Regions from separate parts of the Homo sapiens genome. Here region 1 is linked to region 2. Evidence: promoter capture Hi-C in human tissues and cell types (Jung and others, 2019). All regions are on one chromosome and are shown on one strand. The core of a region is centred on a gene start or on the middle of the fragment in contact, and the rest is flanking DNA. Distances in the headings are between cores, read along the strand shown.

What was found. Contacts are between HindIII fragments. The study calls those that stand out against the background at their distance.
Region 1: a contact is called between a fragment that was not itself captured here and the fragment with the promoter of ELMO1 in region 2, in 1 of the 25 tissues and cell types used here (lymphoblastoid cells).

The regions. Positions count from the first base shown.
Region 1 is chr7:36,623,377-36,627,771 of GRCh38, forward strand. The region is part of intron 6 of AOAH (acyloxyacyl hydrolase); the gene reads right to left. Among named protein-coding and RNA genes, the nearest start is that of AOAH-IT1, 25 kb to the left of the region's middle. The HindIII fragment of the contact is 3,291 bases long and covers 1-2,911 here.
Region 2 is chr7:37,447,440-37,451,418 of GRCh38, forward strand. It overlaps ELMO1 (engulfment and cell motility 1), which reads right to left and starts at 1,425. Exons shown (of 22, transcript NM_014800.11): 1 at 1,236-1,425. RefSeq lists silencers at 1,065-1,114, 1,125-1,174. The HindIII fragment of the contact is 6,371 bases long and covers 1-3,979 here.

The DNA of each region.
Region 1 (4,395 bases), core at 16-2,515, 820 kb before region 2:
AGAAAATTAAGATCCTGTGTGGTGTCAGACAGAGCCAGCAAAACTTTGCCAATCTCTGCTCTTTACCCAACAGAACTGTTTTCTGTCTGATATTAACTTGGCCTGTATGAGGAAGTGAAATAATTGAAGTGAAATTTTAAAGGGCAAGGGGTATTGATGTTGAGATTCCCAGGAAATATGAGACTGCACTTTGAGTTCAGTCAATGAACTCAGCACTACAAATTGAATTTTTGCCATTTTGCACATTGTTATAGAAATCTTTTCTTAAAATTTTACTCTTTTCAATCACTTATCCTGAGAATCTTGACCATTTAGCTGATATTAGCTGGCAACTTTCACTCCCATTCATGAGTCTTGGAAGCCAAGGACCCTGATGTGATGACGAAATAAATTGATGCCAAAGCCATGGACATCCCATGAGGGAGGATTTCCCCTGTGGAATCCTCACCACCAGACTTTTCCCAGCTTCTCAATGTCAAAGACTGCCTTGGGTTTAGAAAATCACTTACACAGTAGCAGAATAATGCAGTCATATGGCAATGAGGCAGGAAAATAGGGTCTGGAGGCAGGAAACATAAGGCCGATTCACACTTCAGCTATAACAGGAAATATCCTCTCCATAGGGCATACGCTGTAAATGACTTTGTAACTTTACTTCATCTTCATCCTCTTCATTTACATAGGGCATACCCCAAGTAGAGGATATTTAAACTCACAAAAACTCTGTAATAGGGCCTTTGAGCCCCTATTCTCAGGCCTGCTTCTACACTGTAGAGTGCACTTTCATTTTCTATAAATCCCTTCATTCCTTCCTTGCTTTGTGCATTTCATCCAATTCTTTGTTCAAGATGCCAAGAACCTGGACACCCTCCACCATTAATGGCAAGATGAGGCTTTCTTTGGAGCCGAGAATTTACAGTGAGTAACACAACCTTTTATAGGAATCACTAAATGGTCTTTTGAATAAAGAGCATCTCAACAGTTCTGAGAACCTCAAGGCAAATAAATGCAACCCAAGACCATGCAGAGCCTAAATGGCAGCCTGGAGCCTGTCTTATGAACTCTGGGATGGGACAGAAGTTCAGCTTACAGGCCTCTTTGGTCAAACACTGGAGGGCACTGTGCTGGTTATATTAGCTTCTATGGCTCTACAGCCTGTATTCTACTCTATACTTTTGGGGCTGGGAATTTTGCAAAATATACTTACCAGGTTCCCTTGGGAACTGGAGCTGGCACTGGTGGCAAGAGAGAGCAGGAGGAGGAGCGGAGAAGTTGGTTTCCCGCTCTGTCTTTCTCTCTCTGGATGTTCCCTTCAGTGACTCTACCTCTAGCCACAGTGGGCCCTCCTGAGGGTCCCAGCACCCGTGGGTGACCCCTTATCCATGGCTCCAGGACTGGCCAACATGGCCTCTTGTTTTGCCCCCAGCAACCCCGCAGCAAGTGGCCTCCCAAGCCTGAGAACACCAACTCCTCCCTTTTGCTTCTTCTGTCCCCCTAGGGATGCTGGTTGCCTCCTGCAGTCCTCATAACCGGGGGGCCTTGCCTTCCTCTTTTTACTGTTTCAGCCTTTTTAGCACTTTTTAAACTGGTACCTTATATTAAATCCTCCTTGCACAGCTCTGTTTCCTGACTGGACCACTGAGAGGAGGACCCTGGGATGAGTGAGTGCTGGTTAGGGTAGGGAAAAGTAGGGAGTGTGGGGAGTCAATAGCCACTTAGTGGACCTAATGAAGAGGGAGCTGCAAGCTGATGTCTCATCACTAGTCCTTCCTACATTCCTGCCCTGGGGGACAGGGGAGGCTGGATCCCTGAAAGGACAAGGCAGCAGGCTCCCTCTTAGTGTCTCCAAGAAGAATTATCCTTTTGAATTCAAGTGCTCTTGCCAGATACTGAGTTGAGCATGGTGGTTCAGTAAAGACTCTGGAGTCAGTTGGAGTCACTGCTCCATCCACCGCTTCCTCACCAGCTCGGCAATTCTCAGAAGTTTATTTAACCTCCCTGAGCCTCATTTTTAAATCTGTAAAATGTGATTCCTGCCAGCTCCCTCACAGGGTTTATTGGGAGGATTAAGGGAAACCACATGAAAAGCCCCCAGTATTGGTCCTCACAAAGTGCTTGCAGCTGTGATTATGAGTGCCTGCTGTCCGAAAGAGGAAATTCACCTCCCCCTTCCATTTGGGGTGGGGTGGGTTGAACAAGGCCAGAGAGAGAGCCACCAGCAGGAAATTAGAAACGTTCTACTTGCTGACTCCACACATCCACACTTACAGGAAAAGTGAGAACCAGCCTTGGGGAAGGTGGAAGATTGTCCAGGAACAGTTCAGGTGTGGGCTGTAGCCAAATTCCACCCCCATGATCACCCACACCTTGATTTTCCCATGGTGGGAGCGGAGGGGAATGAAGCTTCCCGAGTGGGCTCAGAGGCTGTGACGCTGCTCTCCCTTATGCAGGAGAGAAGCTAGGGCAAGATCATCCTTGGGATCCTTCCTGCTCTGATGCTCCAGGGTTTCTAGATCCACCCCATCCCTTGTCTACTCTGAACTACAAATGGTTTTCTCTCACTTTAATCATCTGTCAAGAAATGCGGAAAAAGCTTGGACCAAATGACTTGCAGTCATCCAACATCAGCTGTGACTCTTAAGAAAAGTTTTGGAAAAGGCTTTGAAGGTCACATTTTCTGTGAGACTAGGCAGTTTTCCCCATGTATGTATTTGGCCTCTTGGACAGCGTGTATTTTTCTAGTTGAGAAAAGGAAGATAAAGAAAGAGAGCAAGAGCAAGAGACAAAGACAGACAGATCAACAGAGAGAGAGAGAGAGAAAGAGACAGAAATGACGTAGACCCAAACAGCCATATTTTCAGCCTGAGAAAGAAAAAGGAGCTGCAGGAAAGGTCCCGTTTGGGCATGTGCCAAAGCTATCCCCTCCCACCTTTGTTATCTTGGGGGTGAGAGTTTGTCCTTGAAAGAAGGAACAAAGAGTGGTCTTTAAGATTGGAAAGCTGATTTATTAACCTTTGTCTGCTTACTTTAAAGGCCCCAAGTGACTGGCCAAAGCCATGCATTCTAGACATGAGTGGGTAGACTGGGTACTCAGAGTAGCATAAATTGCAACTTGTGTAATCTCCACAATCCCTTCTTCACAGCCCACTAATCAAAATTTTTTTCAACTTAGCAACAACTTCATTTGGTAGCAAAACTTGACCTGAACTGATATAGGGCAATTCGTAAGCTTTATCATACTTAGTGTGAAAATTCATATATTTCACTCTGAAATATAAATGTGATTGATCAAGAGGTGCCAGGGATAGCAGGTGGGTTATGGTATATGCATTATTGATTATTTTACTAGAATATAAAAAACCTGAATTTCAAATCATATCTGGCTCCAAGGCTTCTTGTTTGTTTGTTTTTGTGTTTGTTTTTATAGAGACGGGGTCTTGCTCTGTTGCCCAGGCTGGTCTTTAGCTCCTGACCTTAAGTGGTTGTTCCACTCTGGTCTCCCAAAATGGTGAGATTACAGGCATGAGGCAATGTGCCCGGCAACTCCAAGGTTTTGAATAAGACATTGTTGACTTTACTAAAAATTATTTCTGCAGAATTGCATCTGAACTTGATACCTTATGTATCCTTAGAAATATCTAGCTGTATGTTGAAATGTTCATTCATTCATTCCTTCATTCCACAGGCATTTTGGGAGTCCCTGCTGTGTGCTGGGAATCATATTAGATACCAGAGATGAGTACAAGATACAGTTCCTACAGTTCCTGCAATTTAGGAGCTTGACATGGGTAAGGAAATTAATGCATCAAAAGATAACTATAGTCCTGGGTGAAAAATGCTGTAAGCGGGTTGTGCATGTAGAGAGGAAAAAAACGTTTCTAACTCTGTATAGCAGAAGAAGTGATCTTAAGGTGAAAGCTAAAGGATGAGACAGCATTTTCAAGGCAAGCAATTGGACTGAGGACAGCGTAGTGGGAAGGAAAAGCCACGGGAATTCTTTCAACGTAGCTCCGGGTTCTGAAATTAGATTCTCTGGGTTTGAATCCCAGTTCTGCTGTCTCCTTGTCAGGTGACCTTATGCAAATTATTTAATCTTTTTGTGCCTCAGTTTTCTCATTGGTAAAGTAGAATCAATATCATTAACTATTTCTTAGACATGGAAAGCACTCAAAAAAAAAACAAAACAAAACACATGAGCTCTTACTTCATGTGCAATGGGAACCCTGATTGCAAGGATGGCTCCTCGGGAGGGGCAGCAGGAGTCAGGTGTCTGCTCTCATCATGATTTGGTTTCTAGAGACATCCCCATCCCAATCCATGGCCCCTCTTCAGATGTTCAGATTTCTGGCCACACGACATTCTATTCAATGACCATGCAGCCTGGTGTCACTCGCT
Region 2 (3,979 bases), core at 175-2,674:
GTCTCGGGAGCCGTCCAGGGACTCTCAGAGCTGGGTCACTACCTGGGACCAAGCCTGAGGCTGGTCCTTTAGGTCAAGGCAGGTCCCGACCCGCCTCCAACTTCAAATGGCCCCCTAGGCGGGAGAGGGTCACTGGGCGGGGAGTTCCTGGCTGTGCGGTCACACACACACACACCGACTCACACACACACCCACAACACCCCCCCCACACACACACACTCACACACACACCGACGACACACCACACACACATACATACGCGCGCGCGCACACACCACACACACACACACACACACACACACACACACACGCCGCCTCGCGCGCGCTCGCGGCACAGCACCGACTTCCCAACCCCAAACACACGCGCGCACCCCCGGGACAGCTGAGTTCTGTATTTCCTCTTCCTCAAAGCGACTCCGGCGATCGCAGTCGCCACTCTCCGCTCCGATTCCCGGGCCCCCTGGCATGCCGCCGCCCCCTTCTCTGAAGGCGCGCCCGGTGCGTCCCCTCTCCGAAGCCGAGATTTCCACGAAGCTCCACAAAGCTCCCCGCCGCCTCTCTCGGTCTCGGCGGAGACCCCGGTGTGTCCCCGGGAGGAGAGTATTTACTAACCAGAACCTCAGGGGCTCCCGGCTGCCCAGACCGCCCTCTCCGGCCCTCCTGGCCCCCATTCCTCTGGCCCATCACCGCCCCCTCCCACGAGCGCGCTCGCCGGGGGATTCCCTCCCATCCCCGAGTGCAGGAGAAGACGCCGAGTCTGAGCCGCAGCCGCTTCTCTAGCTCTATAGGAATCTTGACTCCAAGATCCCAGCCCCACATCCCCCGTCCCCAGTAACCCCGCGCCAGCGTCGCAACCCTCCCGCGCCCCCCCTCCCGCAGACCCTGGTCGAAATGTCTCGGCGGGCTCCCGGGCCCCGGGCCCTGCGCTTCATCCGCGGGCGCCGCACCTCCAGCGCCCCCTCCCTCCGCTCCCACTCCCACTCCCGCCATCCCCGGAGCTCAGACTTCCCCAACTGCAGAGCGCCCCGACGCGCCCGCAGCCCTCACCCTGCCGAGCGCGGCGGCCACCCCCGCCCGAGCCGCGGCGCCCCCAGGGAGGAAACAAAAGTGTCTCCGCGGCGCCCGGAGTCCCCCGGAGCAGGACGCCTCCTCCCGGCCCCAGTCCCGGCCCCCTCCCCTGCCGCGCCGAGGTCAGCGAGTCGGGGCGCGGCGCCAGCCCAGGAAACTTTACGAACCTGCTTGGGGTCGCAGGACAGCAGCGGCAAGGGTTCCCGGCGATCAGAGCTCCGGCGACCCGCCACCATTGAAGGGGAACTGGAGGCTCTGTCGCCCAGCGTGGGGCCGCGGCGGCGTGGGTGGCTCTGCCTCTATCCTGTGCCCATCCTCGCCCGCTCCCGCTCGCCCCAGCACACGCACTTACACTCTGGGTCGGCCGGCTGCTGCACCGCCGGCTGCCGCTGCTCTCACTTCCTCTTCCTTCCTCCTGCTGGCCAGAGACACATTTTGCATCTGCAAGGCATCCGGAGATCAGCCGCGAACTCTCCTCCCGAGCGGACGCTGCGGAGTTGCAGCCGCCGCCCCCGGCACCTGCGCCAGGACACTCGTGGTCTGCGCGTTCGCCTTGCGCCCGCACCCTGCCTGGTCCCTGCCCACTGCACTTTGCCTAGGGGGATGCCCACGACTTTTTGAAGTCCCCCTACTTAAAAGACAGAAATGTCAAACACCATGCATGCCTCAGATCTGCTATAAATAATATGTGTGCAGAGCATGACTTCGATGAGCTCACACACGGCGTTTGGAGGCACTAATTAACTCCGTCACCCTCATAGCGCCATCTCCGGGAGGCCAAAAGCGAGTAGCATCTTTTCACATCCTTTTTTAATTTTTGGCAACCGGTTCCGGATATTAAGGGGAAACTTCGGTGGGCTGTTTGAACGCTACTTTAAGACGTGTTTGTTTTGACGCTGTGCCTCTACCCTTGGACAGAGTGGCAAAAAAAAAAAAAAAAAGTTTCCTCCCTCTCCGTCGACATCTATGTATTTACTAACCCTGCAATTGAAACTACAAGATGTATTTCTAACCAATTAAGCCAGGGACTTCCTAATTTTGCATAACTTTGCATAAGGCAAGACGTTCCACCCATAATTTGATATTTAGAATAAATTACTTAATTCATGCAACCTACTTAAATCATTTTCAAAGCAGAAATCAAAAACGTTAACTCCCAGCCTAGCTGGCAGGAGGGAAGAGGGTTGCAGGCGAACCACCTGTCCTCCCCCAGTTCAGAAATACCTACATTGGCTCTACCGGAAAAGTCAAAGGCAGTTCGGCATTTTCTTCTAATTGGCAAAGGAAATAAGTCGGGGGCAGGGAGGCATCAGAATCAAGGTGGAAAACTAAGCTCCCTTTTAAGATCTTCCCCCTCAAGAGCCACAGGCAGCTGTTGAGCACTTGAAATGTGGCTATCCCTGAGATGTTCTGTAAGTGTAAAACAGACATACAATTCAGTATTTTTAAAATGAATGTAAACTAACTTGTTAAGTATGTTTATGTTGATTACATTATTGCAATACATGAGAATAGTCTGATGTAGTAAGTCAGTTGGATTCGTCATGTGTTGGGTTAAGATATAAGCATATATAAGATTAATTTCACCAGTTTCTTTTTACATTTTCTGATGTAGCTACTAGAAAATGTAAGGCTACACATAGGCTCTCATTAGTGGCTCACCTTATACTTTTAATGAACAGCTCTGATCTAACTCCTTATTATACGCATGACTCTGGGAGGCAGTATTAGTATCAAGAGTGCCTGGGTCCAGATGGTTATAAGCCAGTAACTAAAGCAGGGTGACTGCAGGAAAGCAACTTAACTTCTGTATTTCCTCATCTATAAAACAGTAATGATATAATAACAAAAGTCAATAGCACCAACTATTAAATGAAGTAATTTAATAAGTAGTCAGTAAATGGAGCCTTTACTAACGATGCTCTGAGACACTTGTAGTGATAAGTATGAATTTGATCTACAACCTTGTAGCTAAGGCATATAAAGACCTTAACTTTAGTGCATGCGTGGTGAGCACTCAGTAAACATTAGCTGTCATAATTGTTCCCTCCTTGCACAGCAATTATGCAAATCCACTCCCCTGTAACCTTTGGTCCCGGGTCTTCACATCTTTCCTCCATGAAGTAGTCTTTCAGATCTTTGAAGTCAGCCCTCAAATTTTACCTAAACACTCTCTTTTGAGGATTAACCATCCTCAATTATTCTGACTCTTCTTCATGTGACATGGCTTCAAGTCTCTCTCATTTGAGCCATCTTCTCCCAGAAGAATATCTGTCTCTGCCCTTTAAAAAAAAAAAAGAAAAAAGAAAAAAAGAAAAAAAAGTAGTCTTATAGATTAATTACGTAATTAACCATTAGCAAACACAATACAGCCTGAGATCTTCTCTCTCTCTCTCTTTTTTTTTTTTTCTCAAATACATCTCAGTGTTGATAGGAGTGCAAGGGGAAGACTGGAAATTCTTTACAGTGTTACGGTTAGGCCATGTGCGGGAACATGGAGTTGATCTTTGGAACCAAAGTTCCTGATCCACTTTCTCTAAGTCCCTTAGGATTTAATTCAGGCATCCAGTGTCTCCCCATATCCATGGATTACATTAAAATATTAAGATGCCACATGACATCCCACTAAGGAGCTCCCTCTGCTAAGCTGGGAGAATAGCATTCTTTGGTTCACTGGTTATTAATAAACTGCTTAACAGTGCAATTGCCAAACTTCAATTTTCTCTTCTATTCATAAAGACATCTTAGAAGTATTGTCAAGTGTCTTAGAGGAACCCGCCTTCTCCCTCAGCTCTGCTGGTGGTCAGCAATGGATGCAATAAAGTGGAATATGTGGTGTTGTCATGTATGTGGGCTCCATCTTTGGACCTGGTTGTTGTGTATAAATCCCACCATTACCATTTACTGGCTG